Linked DNA regions of Homo sapiens: region 2 is linked to region 1. The links are contacts of gene promoters, found by promoter capture Hi-C in blood cells and fetal thymus (Javierre and others, 2016). All regions are on one chromosome and are shown on one strand. Each heading gives the region's core, a stretch centred on a gene start or on the middle of the fragment in contact. The rest is flanking DNA. Distances are from core to core; before and after follow the strand shown. Region 1 holds the start of SAMSN1-AS1 (SAMSN1 antisense RNA 1). Region 2 overlaps NRIP1 (nuclear receptor interacting protein 1).

What was found. Contacts are between HindIII fragments. The CHiCAGO score rates a contact against its expected background, and 5 or more counts as called.
Region 2: a fragment that was not itself captured here is called in contact with the fragment with the promoter of SAMSN1-AS1 in region 1 in 1 of 17 cell types (erythroblasts); the score reaches 5.4 in erythroblasts.

Annotation. Positions count from the first base shown.
Region 1 is chr21:14,578,454-14,584,197 of GRCh38, reverse strand. SAMSN1-AS1 (SAMSN1 antisense RNA 1) reads right to left here and starts at 1,996. Exons shown (of 5, transcript NR_046512.2): 1 at 1,907-1,996. It also overlaps a transcript of SAMSN1 not described here. RefSeq lists an enhancer at 5,716-5,744. The HindIII fragment of the contact is 2,204 bases long and covers 1,904-4,107 here.
Region 2 is chr21:15,055,890-15,061,708 of GRCh38, reverse strand. All of the region lies in intron 1 of NRIP1 (nuclear receptor interacting protein 1), which reads left to right. Among named protein-coding and RNA genes, the nearest start is that of NRIP1, 6.2 kb to the left of the region's middle. RefSeq lists enhancers at 2,767-2,816, 4,192-4,241, 4,462-4,511. The HindIII fragment of the contact is 994 bases long and covers 2,861-3,854 here.

The sequences.
Region 1 (5,744 bases), core at 747-3,246:
AATATTAGCAGGTAGACTTTGTATACTATCAGTCTATTCCAATACTAGCAAATAGCAACTTTGAACCTCTTGTTCCATCTATATTACACTGCAAAGATCTTGTTTTTTTCCGCTGTTTCACAGTGGGCAGGAGTGAGTCATTTATAGATATTTCTGAATTCAATCCATTTTGCTGTATTTTGAAGTAAAAAAAAAAAATGGTAAAACCACTCTGCTTTAGTATGCCTGGCCAGTTGTAACATATTTTATAATTTTGAACCCAAAAAGTATGGTGTGCTTTCAAGTTAGTGCTTAAATTGACTCAGGCTTCAGGTTTTAAGGTCACATTATTAATTTTTCCACATTTATGATCTCAACATATTTTATATTTAATCTTTTGTGAGGAATAATTTGTCTTTACCTTGAGCTGTGTTTGTGCTAGGCCATAAAATCAGGCAGTGACCCTGTGGAATCAATGGGGACATTAAAGCGACTACAGAAACTGGTTTGGACTAAGAAAGCCAGAGTGCAGAATCTGGATGAGGTGAAACCGACATTAATAAACCTCCGTAAGTAAGAACTCAATAAGCTGTTAAAACTCCTTTGAGGGAGAACTAAGGAAGCATACGTTAATGAAGCCCATTTTGATAAAGTCTTAAGATAATCATTAAACATTGAGGATTTTTTTTTATTGCCAAGTTATTTTAAAACAGACATCCCCATCTGTTCCTGAATTTTACCCCGTATTTATGCACCGCCCCGTTTCTCCTTGCCTTCAAGACCGGGCTCCGAGACACAGTGAGAGAGAGCAATGGAGGAAGCTCAGCAGTGTCCACTGTCGCCATTCCTTGGCCATAGAAAACAATGTATTTGAATTTTGATGTAAGCATAACAAATTGGTATGTCCATGGCATGCAACTTTGATTTTCATTTATTTATTTATAATAGCATGCCTTAAGTAATCGAACTCTTTTAAAAATACCCATTAAACGTTTGGATTTAAAGGGATTCCATGACATAGAGCAATTGACTCTGGGTGATATATATTTCTATTTTCTGTAACTGTTTTCTACATTACTAGAAATTTCATCAGAGTCTTTGCCACATTGTGTAAATATAGATCTCACAAATGAACTTTATGGTATTACAGATATGGCTTTTTTAAATTTTTGTCGTTCTTGTTTTTTGAAAACCATTTCACTGTGAGACACACTGCATCCATACATCTCTTGGTAGATTGATATTAAAATAGACAATTTCAGAATGTCAGTAGGATTTCAGTCCAAACCACTGAGATTTTATTCTTTTAAGTAGGGCAAATAATTTTATTTATTTCCTTATAATTCTTTATTATACACATGACCTTAAAAATTAAAAAAATATTTAAGAATAGAAACATAAGAGGTGGGTTTTTTAATTGTATTTTTTTCTCAAATATCTTTCAGCATATTATTTGTATGTGGCCTCCATTCTTTCCAGTGAGATAGAATTTAATCAATTGTTATGGTTTCAAAAATGTCAGAAAAATGCGACTTTTACAAAACAAAAAATTTTATATAGCAAAATAACTTGCTTTTTAAATAAATGCTGCTGTAAATAATTTTATAAAATTGAATGACTTCTTGGTTTATCCATTGCAGTGTATTTATTTCTCTTATATAAATGGAAGAATAATTCCTATATGTGAAGAATTATAATCATAGTTTTTAACCTATTTCTTTGTCATTCAGAAGATGAAGATGACACGTTGATTTCTTGTTTGAAATTAACCAAGTCCCGAGAAAAGAAAGTGAATAGTGTTAGCACGAGGAGGAAGGAAGAAATGGAGATTAGATTGGATACTCTTTCTGCATCACTGGGTAGATCCAGCACTTTAAATAACTGCAACTTGGAAGATAAATTAGCTTGGTATGAAGGTGAAGCTTACATGTGGCATCACTGGAAGCCTTTTCCTGAAAACCCTCTCTGGACATGTCTTGATTTCCAAATAGCACAAGTTGGACCCTGGGACCACTGCTCCTCTTGTATTCGCCACACACGTCTCAAGTCTTCCTGCTCAGATATGGATCTCCTACATTCATGGGTAAGTTTGCAGACTACGGAAATGTGTCATCTTATCTGGGGTTTTGTACTGTCGGGAAAGAAACAGATAGCAAAAGTGCTAATCAGTGAAATTTATCAGTTTCAGAAAAGTTACCAGAGCAAGAGTTGTCTTTCCAAAAAGCAACCAAACTCTTGTGACTTTTACCCATATTAACATTTCATATATTCCTTTGTGTACAAATTAATGACTGCATAAAATTTTTCCAGGGATTTCTTTTTGATTGAAGGAAGACTTCGTGTGTTGACTGAGATCAAGAAAATGTGAAGTGAACTGTCTAAATTATTGCAATTATAATGAAATTTCACTGAAAAATAATAGCTAATTTTAATGAGCATTTTATTTGGGCCTGCCATTTTCCTAAGCATTTTATATGTATTATCTCATTTAAATCTCACATCAACTCTATAAGGTAAGGACTTACATTATGAAATATTACCTTAAGAAATATTATTTTTGGCCAGGCACGGTGGCTCATGCCTGTAATCCCAGCACTTTTGGGAGGCCGAGGCGGGAGGATCATGAGGTCAGGAGATCGAGACCATCCTGGCTAACAAGGTGAAACCCCGTCTCTACTAAAAATACAAAAAAATTAGCCGGGCGTGGTGGCGGGCACCTGTAGTTCCAGCTACTCGGGAGGCTGAGGCGGAAGAATGGCGTGAACCCAGGAGGTGGAGCTTGCAGTGAGCCGAGATCGCGCCACTGCCCTCCAGCCTGGGCGACTGAGCAAGACTCGTCCTCAAAAAAAAAAAAAAAAAAAAAAAAAAAAAAAAGAAATATTATTTCCCCTCATTTTACAGTTGAGAAAATGGAGGCACAAAAAGTTGGTAACAGGTGCAAAGTCAGACAGCTAACAGGAGGTAGAGCCAAGACCTATAACCTAGGTCTTGCTTTTAGCTAGAGCTCCTGCTTTTAGCTACTACATTAGAGTGTTTTCCATATACGAGGGCAGACTCTAAGGCTATTATGTGATACGTGAGAAAGAGTATGCTCTCTGGAGTCAAACAAATTTGGATGGATTCTGGCTGTGCTACTTTTTTTTTGGGCTTGGATAAGTTATTTAAACCTTTTAATCTTAACTTTCTTAACTAAAAAATGGAAATAGTCAAGAAGCTAAAGTCAAATATTATAAATCTTCTAGTACTTAAGAGTGGTACTTTTTTTTCAATTTCCTTGTAAATTGCTCAAGGCATGTTTTATAACTTTACCTACAGCTCCTCTGGTCATGTGTGTTTTCAGTGAATGAATGGGACAATTCTGTGTATCCAGGGAGCCTACTCTCTACCATTTTCCTCAAAGAATCAGTCTCTTCTTAGACAGAAGCTACATTTTATAACATATTTAGAGGTCTCTTAAAAGGCATATTTTCTCTTGGAACTTTTTTTGCCTTTTAAGATTTGTGCATTAAGTCTGCAAAGACTAGAATTAAAGTAACTTGTGTTCAAAGTGCCATAGTAAATATAACAGGTATCTGATAACAGACTTCGAACTGATGAAACTGACCAACATTAATCATTTCTAAATATCCTCCTTCTTCTTTAATCTTCATCTTCTTTTCTGGGACTGCTGCACTTTGCAGGTTTTCTCTTAGAGTAGCTTCTTGGAGAGTAGCTGGTAATATAATTAGGACGTGCTTCTGATGACTCCCTCTGATATCTTCAGAAGCAGGATCAAGGCTGATGACTCCTTGGCAAGTGGCTAAGCTGTTGTATAGGCATCTGAACACAAATAGTCAGAGTTTTCTTCAAGAATAAAATCTGGACTCCCTAACTTGGCATTTCTGGATTTCATCAGTCTGGACTCAATCTAATTTTTCAGTCTTATCTGTGCACTACCCCCACCTTATTGATTTCCTATGCCGAACTGCCAAACTGAATGATTTGCTATTCCTAAAGGCTGTCTCACACTTTCTTCCCTCTATCTTTGTGACAGTGTGATGGCCTCTGCCTGATATGTGAATTCTCTCTGTTAGAACCCATCCCATCATCCCTTAGACTCAGATCAAATACTTCATCATCTAGAAAGCTTTTCTGAGTAACACCAGGCAGAAGTAGTCCCTCCTTCCTTTGAACTTCTACATTATTTGAGGGCATTATTCTTTCATTCCATATCCATGAAACACATCCTGCCAACCTACTATTTGCTATTCACAATATCAGGCACTGGAGATACAGAGCTAAATGATATCTACACTGCCCTCATCTTCATGGAACTTAACCATACTCCACTTGTGCTGGAATTAGTTCAGTATTTGTATACTTCCTATGAATAACTTATCTTTGTATCCTCCATAGTTCCTATAATGTAATGGGTCCTCAATAAATATCTGAAGAAGTGGCCAGGTGTGGTGGCTCACACCATTAATCCCAGCACTTTGGGAGGCCAAGGTGGGAGGATCACTTGATCCCAGGATTTCAAGACCAACCTGGGAAACAAAGTGAGACCCTGCCTCCAAAAAAAAAAAAAAAAAAAAAAAGTGAGCATTTTCTAACATGAAGTGCAGAACAGAAATAAATAAATAAATATTTGAGTAGCACTTGTTGCCTAAATAAATGGAGGTTAGAAACCAATGGACTTTGTTTCCATAGATCCAGATAAAGCATATTTCTTCTTGTTTTTCTAGCTGTTCTTATAGCCAAAGCTTTCCTCATTCTAATAAATCCAGTTATAGATAAATTATTTTGTACATGTGAGTGTTTGTGGATGTGTGTAGGTGTAGGGAAATACACAACAGTCATATTTTTCTTTTTTATTTAGGTAGTTTTGTCTATTTTAATATATAACTTAACGATTAAGTGAGTTTTATCTGCAGAAGGTCAAACATATCTACAGAATGCTCAGAATTTCAGATGATATTGTTCAGCATTCGTGACAGAAAAGCCTCAGTGGACTTGGAGAGAGGGTTCAAGAGCATGTTAGAGTTAAATTGGTTTGGTAAACTTAATGAGACCACTTACACTCCGGGATTTGAGACACTAAAGTGAAAGAAGTTGGATGAGTGCAAATTATTATTTTTGTATTCTACACATATATTCTATAACAACAACAAGTGAAAAATATCCAGTTTCATTTTAGCATAGCTGGTATTTTTTTCAATAGTAATTGCAGGGTTATTATTTAGGTTATTTAACTTTCATATTATAGAATGTAAAGGAGGCAGTGTTGGGGTTTGAAAAGATGTGCTTCTGTAATGAATGTTACTTACTATTAATGGCAGGTAGTCAGAGGCGACATTTTTGCAATTTAAAAGGGTAAGAGTGTGATTATATTTTTAAAAATATACGTGCCAAGATATGCAGATATGATGGAGCTGGGCCTAAACCCCACATTTCATGGGAAATGAATCTAATCTACAAGGACACTAGTTTCTCCTTGACTTCAAAAATTTTAGGAATAGTACAATCTTGGGGTCTTTTTTTTTTTTTTTTTTTTTTTTTGATGGATTCTCACCCTGTCGCCCAGGCTGGAGTGTAATGGCATGATCTTGGCTCACTGCAACTTCTGCCTCTTGGGTTCAAATGATTCTCCTGCCTCAGCCTCCCTAGTAGCTGGGATTACAGGTGCCCGCCACCATGCCCGGCTTATTTTTGTATTTTTAGTAGAGATGGGGTTTCACCATGTTGGCCAGGCTGGTCTTGAACTCCTGACCTTGTGATCTGCTTGG
Region 2 (5,819 bases), core at 2,108-4,607, 480 kb before region 1:
TGTTGTTTGGGAAAAGCAGTAATAGTTTGGTGTATCAGGTTAAAAGATAATTTTGCTCAGAATGAGTTTAAAATACCGAATTTTTGTCAAGGAAAACATTATTCACTTTAAATTGTGCTAGGGTCAGTTTTGCTTTTCGCATTTGAGATTGCTTGATACAATTAGTTTTTAATGTAGGTTAGTAAGAGGAAATGGTAGTCCCTTCCCTACCATTTCCCTCCCTCCCTTGCTCTCTTCCCCTTTTCTAAAATAAACACTGTCTAGATCTTTGGATATTTTCTTCCATGAAAAACTGCCTTAGTTGCAGCGTTCCTTCTTGGCTGTGGGTGGGGAGAAGTTTCTTCACTCTTGTACTTTTCCCTTCTGCCCCTTCAGGTGATTGATACACAATCAGAGTGGGTTTTGTTCTGTGTGTTTGTTTAATAACGATTTACTGTTACACGGATGAAGACTGGGAAAAAGCATTTGCCGTTCTAGCAAAGTCCTGTATACCCATGTCTTCCAACTGGAGAAATATTTTCATTAAAATAATCTTGACTACTGTTGAAAAGTCAAAGAAAATTTTCAACAAGATATGCTAGGGTCTTGCAGGATATGAGTTTGAATCTGTGAACTAAAAAGGTTCAAGTTGCATTTCCTTAAGTTGTAGTTTTTTCAGGGACTTTTGGGGGAGGGGGAATGAGCAGGCTCATCCTGTAGTATTTAGATAACACAACAATTAGAGAAATGTAACACCACTATGGCCACTAAGACTTGAGAAGGTAAAAACCAGGAGTGTCAGATGGTGAAACAGGCCATTGGAATGGAACTGAAGATTATGTCGAGAGGTTGGAATGAACAAAAAGTAAATGGAGGAGAGAGATCTAGTTTCTGTATCCTGTTTGCATCTGATGCTGAAGCAGAGACATGAATTGCTGATGGTAATGGATTCTATTCTCTTTTAGGAGGCCAGCAATATTATATAAATAGTGGTTGTTTGAGGGAGAGAAACGACAAGTTCCCCTTTTGTGCATGTTCACACTTTGTTTTGAATGTCTCTGAGATATCTTTAAAGTAGAGGATCAAAATTGGGTACCAGCATGGAATCAGGAGTTATACTTTGGAGGAAAATGAATTAATATTAGATCACATTTTCTTTAATCTTTTAAGATCTGGAATTTTACAAGGGTCTTCATCAACAGGGAAAACCGTGTTCTGAGTGCTAAAGTTTGGGTGGTGAACTGGATAATTCTTTTATAGGATCTCTGATAAAGATAAACATGTAAATAACTGCAGAAATAATGCTTTATTTAAGCACATTACCTATGATTCATGGTAGGGGGAAAATAGAGACCACAGAAACTCCTGAAGTCTTATCAGGGTTTCTTTGCAAACTATTATATGGATGCCCATCTGTTGTTTTTTCTTGAAATTTAGTGTTCAGGTTGATGGATACTGAATGTATAGGATTCTGAAGGTTGGAGTTTATTTAAAACAGAACTTTCCTTTTGTTTTACTACGAGTTATGAAATGCAGTTTTAATTTGTTGCAATAAATATAGAAACTGAGATGAGTAGGAATTTATACTAACTTTTCTCACTGTTATGGTACATACTCTATATCATGAACCTTGAAATTCAAATTGATCCCTACACTATCTTGCAAATATTACAAATGAAGAATTACAAAAGTTGTGGTATTTTAGCTTATCAAAATGCACCCGAAACATAAAATATTTTTCTTTAAGTTCTTAAATCAGAAGAATAGGAAAGAGTTGAAAATAAATGTGATACATTTTATCATTATATTAGTATTTTGTTGAAATTAATACCTTGAATCATGCTATGGATAAACATTTAGCCTAGAACTCTAAAAGTAGTATAATGTGAATCAGATTTAAAGAATTGAGAAGGCTGGCAATTCAAAAATAGAGGAAGAAAACACTCTTTGGGGTTATGAAAAAAAGGATCCTCTTAGTATTAAGATTTCTTAAAAAGCTATACACAGTTTTAAGATAGATTGTTCTTGAAGATAATGGGGCAAATAATTACCTGCTAAACAAATTATGAGTCCTGTGATTCTTTTTTTGGTTGAAATAATTTCAAGAACTCCAGCATATGTTGCAGTTTTGGCTAGAAAGGTGATTGTGACATACATCCATTCATCCATTCTCCCTCTCTCCTTCCCTCCTTCCCTCCCTTCCTTCTTTCCACTTTCAATACATAGGGCTGGGGTAGCAAAAAAAAATAATAATAGTAAACAGTTTTGTAAAACTTGATAATAGAATTATCTGACAGGGTTAATAGTTGTGTTTGAAATTCAGAGCTAGTATGGTTCACTCTCCCCAGAAAATAAAATTTTAATTTCTTACACCTCAGGGAATAAAAACTCTAAATTAAAACCCATCTTGCCTCTTTAACTTTGTGTCACTTAGCAAAAATATCTTTAAGGATGGAAAGAAGAGACCCCATGTGTCTTAAATTCCAAGTCACTGTGTGACTAAGCTCGGAGTTCCAATAAATATTAAACTAGAATTCTGCTGGGAATTTGAGTCATCCGCTTAAGCTACTCCTGGGACCAAGACAACTCTGGTTGACCTGATGTTGATGTTTATTCAGAGCTTTGGTGGAAAGGAGCCTCTCACCCTTGGACTTCTAATTAACAAAGTCATTCCTTAGTCACTTGTTAAGTGATAGAGCTACTCCTTGTTTTCAGGCCTGTAATTTGCTAAAGGATTGAGCACAACAGAGAAACTAAGGAGTTTGGAGCTTCTGCTGTTTAGAGTCTGCTTTCATTATTTTACTTTTACTTTCTTATCTAGCTATGTGAGGGTACTATGTAAAAGTCTGGTGATTTGCTTTAGATACTTAAGAGAAAAGCTTAGCTGTAGTCACATATAGTGTCTAAGATGGCTTTCCTTATAGTTACATGTTTTTAATAGTTGAGTTTGCCTATACTCTTCATAACATGTGCACATGTTAAATATGTTACTGCTTTAAAAAAGCATTTCATTAGTAAGATGGGGAATCGTTTATGTACAATATTGAAATGAGAGTAGTAGTATAATGGTGTGTTTGGTAACTAACAGGACACAATCAAAATTTGAGAATTAGAAGTTCAGAATGAAAAAAGGACTTCTCTCTTGAGGAATCTATCTAGAAGTTGAGAGATAGCAAGTGTTTAACAGAGTGTAATGATTTCTGAGAAGCATGCTTTTAAAGATTTTTTTTAAATTCCTGAATTTATGAGTTTATATTATAATAATCTATAATAGAGCAATAGATTTATACACTGGAAAAGAAACAAATTAAGGGAAGGAGAGAATACACAATGACATGGAGGACATCAAGAAAATATGTTTGGAAACATGTGAAACTCTCCAAATGGGAAATAAATATTCTTGAGAGAAATTAATCACAGTTGCAGTTTTTCTCCTAAAGGGACTGTTTGCACAATGGGTTATGTAGGCTCAGGTTTGATTTTTGAAAAACATGTTAAAAAATAGTATTCCTGTTATTCCACGTTTATTTTTCGAGTTTAGGTTCTGCTACTAAATCAAGATGATACAGATAAAAGGAAAGCCCTTTTATCTCCCCCGGCAGCATCTGTTGAATAAGGGGGTTATATTTGATTTCTAAATTCTAAAATTCTGACTGTACAGCAGTATATGCCGTTGTTGACAGTAAACAGTAAAGATTTCAAGCCTGTGGTTTTAAAAGAAGAAGAGATGATTGGGTAGAAACTTGGAATATTAAGAAGTTGTTTAGTTACTTGGCTGTTGCCTTTTCCTGTTTTGTTGGGAGGGGGAGCAGGGAAAGGAAGAGTATTGAACTTTTTGGGGCAACCGTTTTGTGCCAGACATTGTGCTGGAAGCTTTACACACATTTTGTCTTTTAATCCTTCCAGTTCCCCTGTGACATGTAGGTATCATTTTCTCTAGTTTAGAGATAAGGAAACCTAGTCTGAAAAATGCAAGAATAGTTAACTTGCCTGTGGTCACATGGCAAATTTCATTGATAATTTGATTTTCTTAAAGAATATGCCATTGTTTGAAGAAAAAACCAGTTGCCATCTGACATTCAGGAAGCCGTTAAAAAACCTTGCTCCCAACCTGGTAGCCATAAAACTCATGCAGCATTTGCAAGCCTCATAGCCTGGATTCTCCAAGACCAGGCTCTCTGGGAAGGCACATTGTTGCCAGTCGATGATTCTGCAGCAGCTTATGCTAGTTCTCAAAGCGCTGATGTCCTGCTACCTGCATTGCGCTGGAGGGAAATGTAGTCACCAAGGGCTGCCGCACAGGCTCTTTTCCCTCCAGTGCTAACTCTTCTGAAGTGTATCACAGAATTACTGCGGTGTTATTTGAGGCAGTGAAAGCAACTATGTTTCTTTATATAATTCATTGAAATAGCTTGTCATGGTCTTAAACTGAGTGTTCCCAAGGCTAGTTATGTTTGTCCACTTCAAGGAGCAGTTGTAGCAAATTCAGAACCATAGCTCTTCCTGGTTGAAAAGTTACAACTCTTGACTATTAACAGTTCTTAACATGATTTTTTTTTTAATTACCCTATCTTCACTCACAACAATTTTGTTAAAGACTATCCTGTGCTGATAAACTGCTCTCTGAAATGCAAAGAGGAAATTAACAATGTATTTGTGAATTGGAAGGAAGTGGAAGCAGAGAGATGAGGAGTAGTTGACTTTATTTTGAGGGTAGACTGTGTCAGGAGGGAGATTGTTGAGTGGGGGAGCTTTGTGGCACATAGTACATTTTTAAGTACATACCAGGTACGTTCTTTTATTGTTAAAGCCATAAGAAATGGAGTTATGAGCTTCTCCACCTCCTTTTACTTGCCTCATTTAAAATTTATGGAATTTTTGAACCTAAAAGATTCAAGCTGAGTGGTTCCCTATACACTGAAAGGTATAGTCAAATTGAAACTATATTGGAGACACAAAGATGAATAATAAGACGTGTAAACATAATATTTTCTAGGGTGCTTTGGATTTTGAGTTGCCAAATCATGTTGGAAAAGCAAGAGATTTGTATAAAAGCTGCAAAGGAAACATCTGTGTTTTGTTTAGAGAATACGTTATATTTTGGCCAAATAAGAAAAAAGAGAAATTGTCAAAGTGAACAATATGGGGGGAAGAATGTCTTCCTAAAGATCAGAATGAACTTATATTATTTCCTTAACTGATCCATGCTTTTTAAAAAAAAATGAATTAAAATACACTGAATCTATGTGAAGCCAAATATAAGGATTGAAAACAGTCTTTTTTAAATTTACCATCTGATTCCTTTCCAATATCTGGATGTTTGCTATTATTGTGGCAAGACCCATTGTTAACTGTATTGCTAAAAATCTACTTTTATCTATCCTGGTAATACTTGACTGACCTGAGTCAAAGTCACATTTTCTTTTTTTTTTTTTTTTAACTTTGAATTTCTTTTGCTTGGGCTTTCACAAATTGAAGTTATTTCATAGAATCGTTAGATTTTTCAGGTTGGAAGAGAATTTGATAAAAGCTACGGCTGCTCTGGATTTAAGCACACCTATCTTAGAGGCACCTTGTCCTCCCCCCATTTATCAAACAAGTTAGTTTTTAGATGCATCTTTTGTATGGAAGAGCACACAGTTAGTGTAGACTATAAATAAAATAATGATAAAATGCTACCATTTAGTGCTTATGTGCCATTTTCTTTCCTTTTGGGTTTCCTTCTTTATTTCTGTTTTGTCTTTACTCTGTTTTCCTTTTTATTTCTTAATATCTCATTCATCTTTTTTTTTAATTGCCAGGGGATCCATGTGATACAATGGGGTCAATAATTACTTATC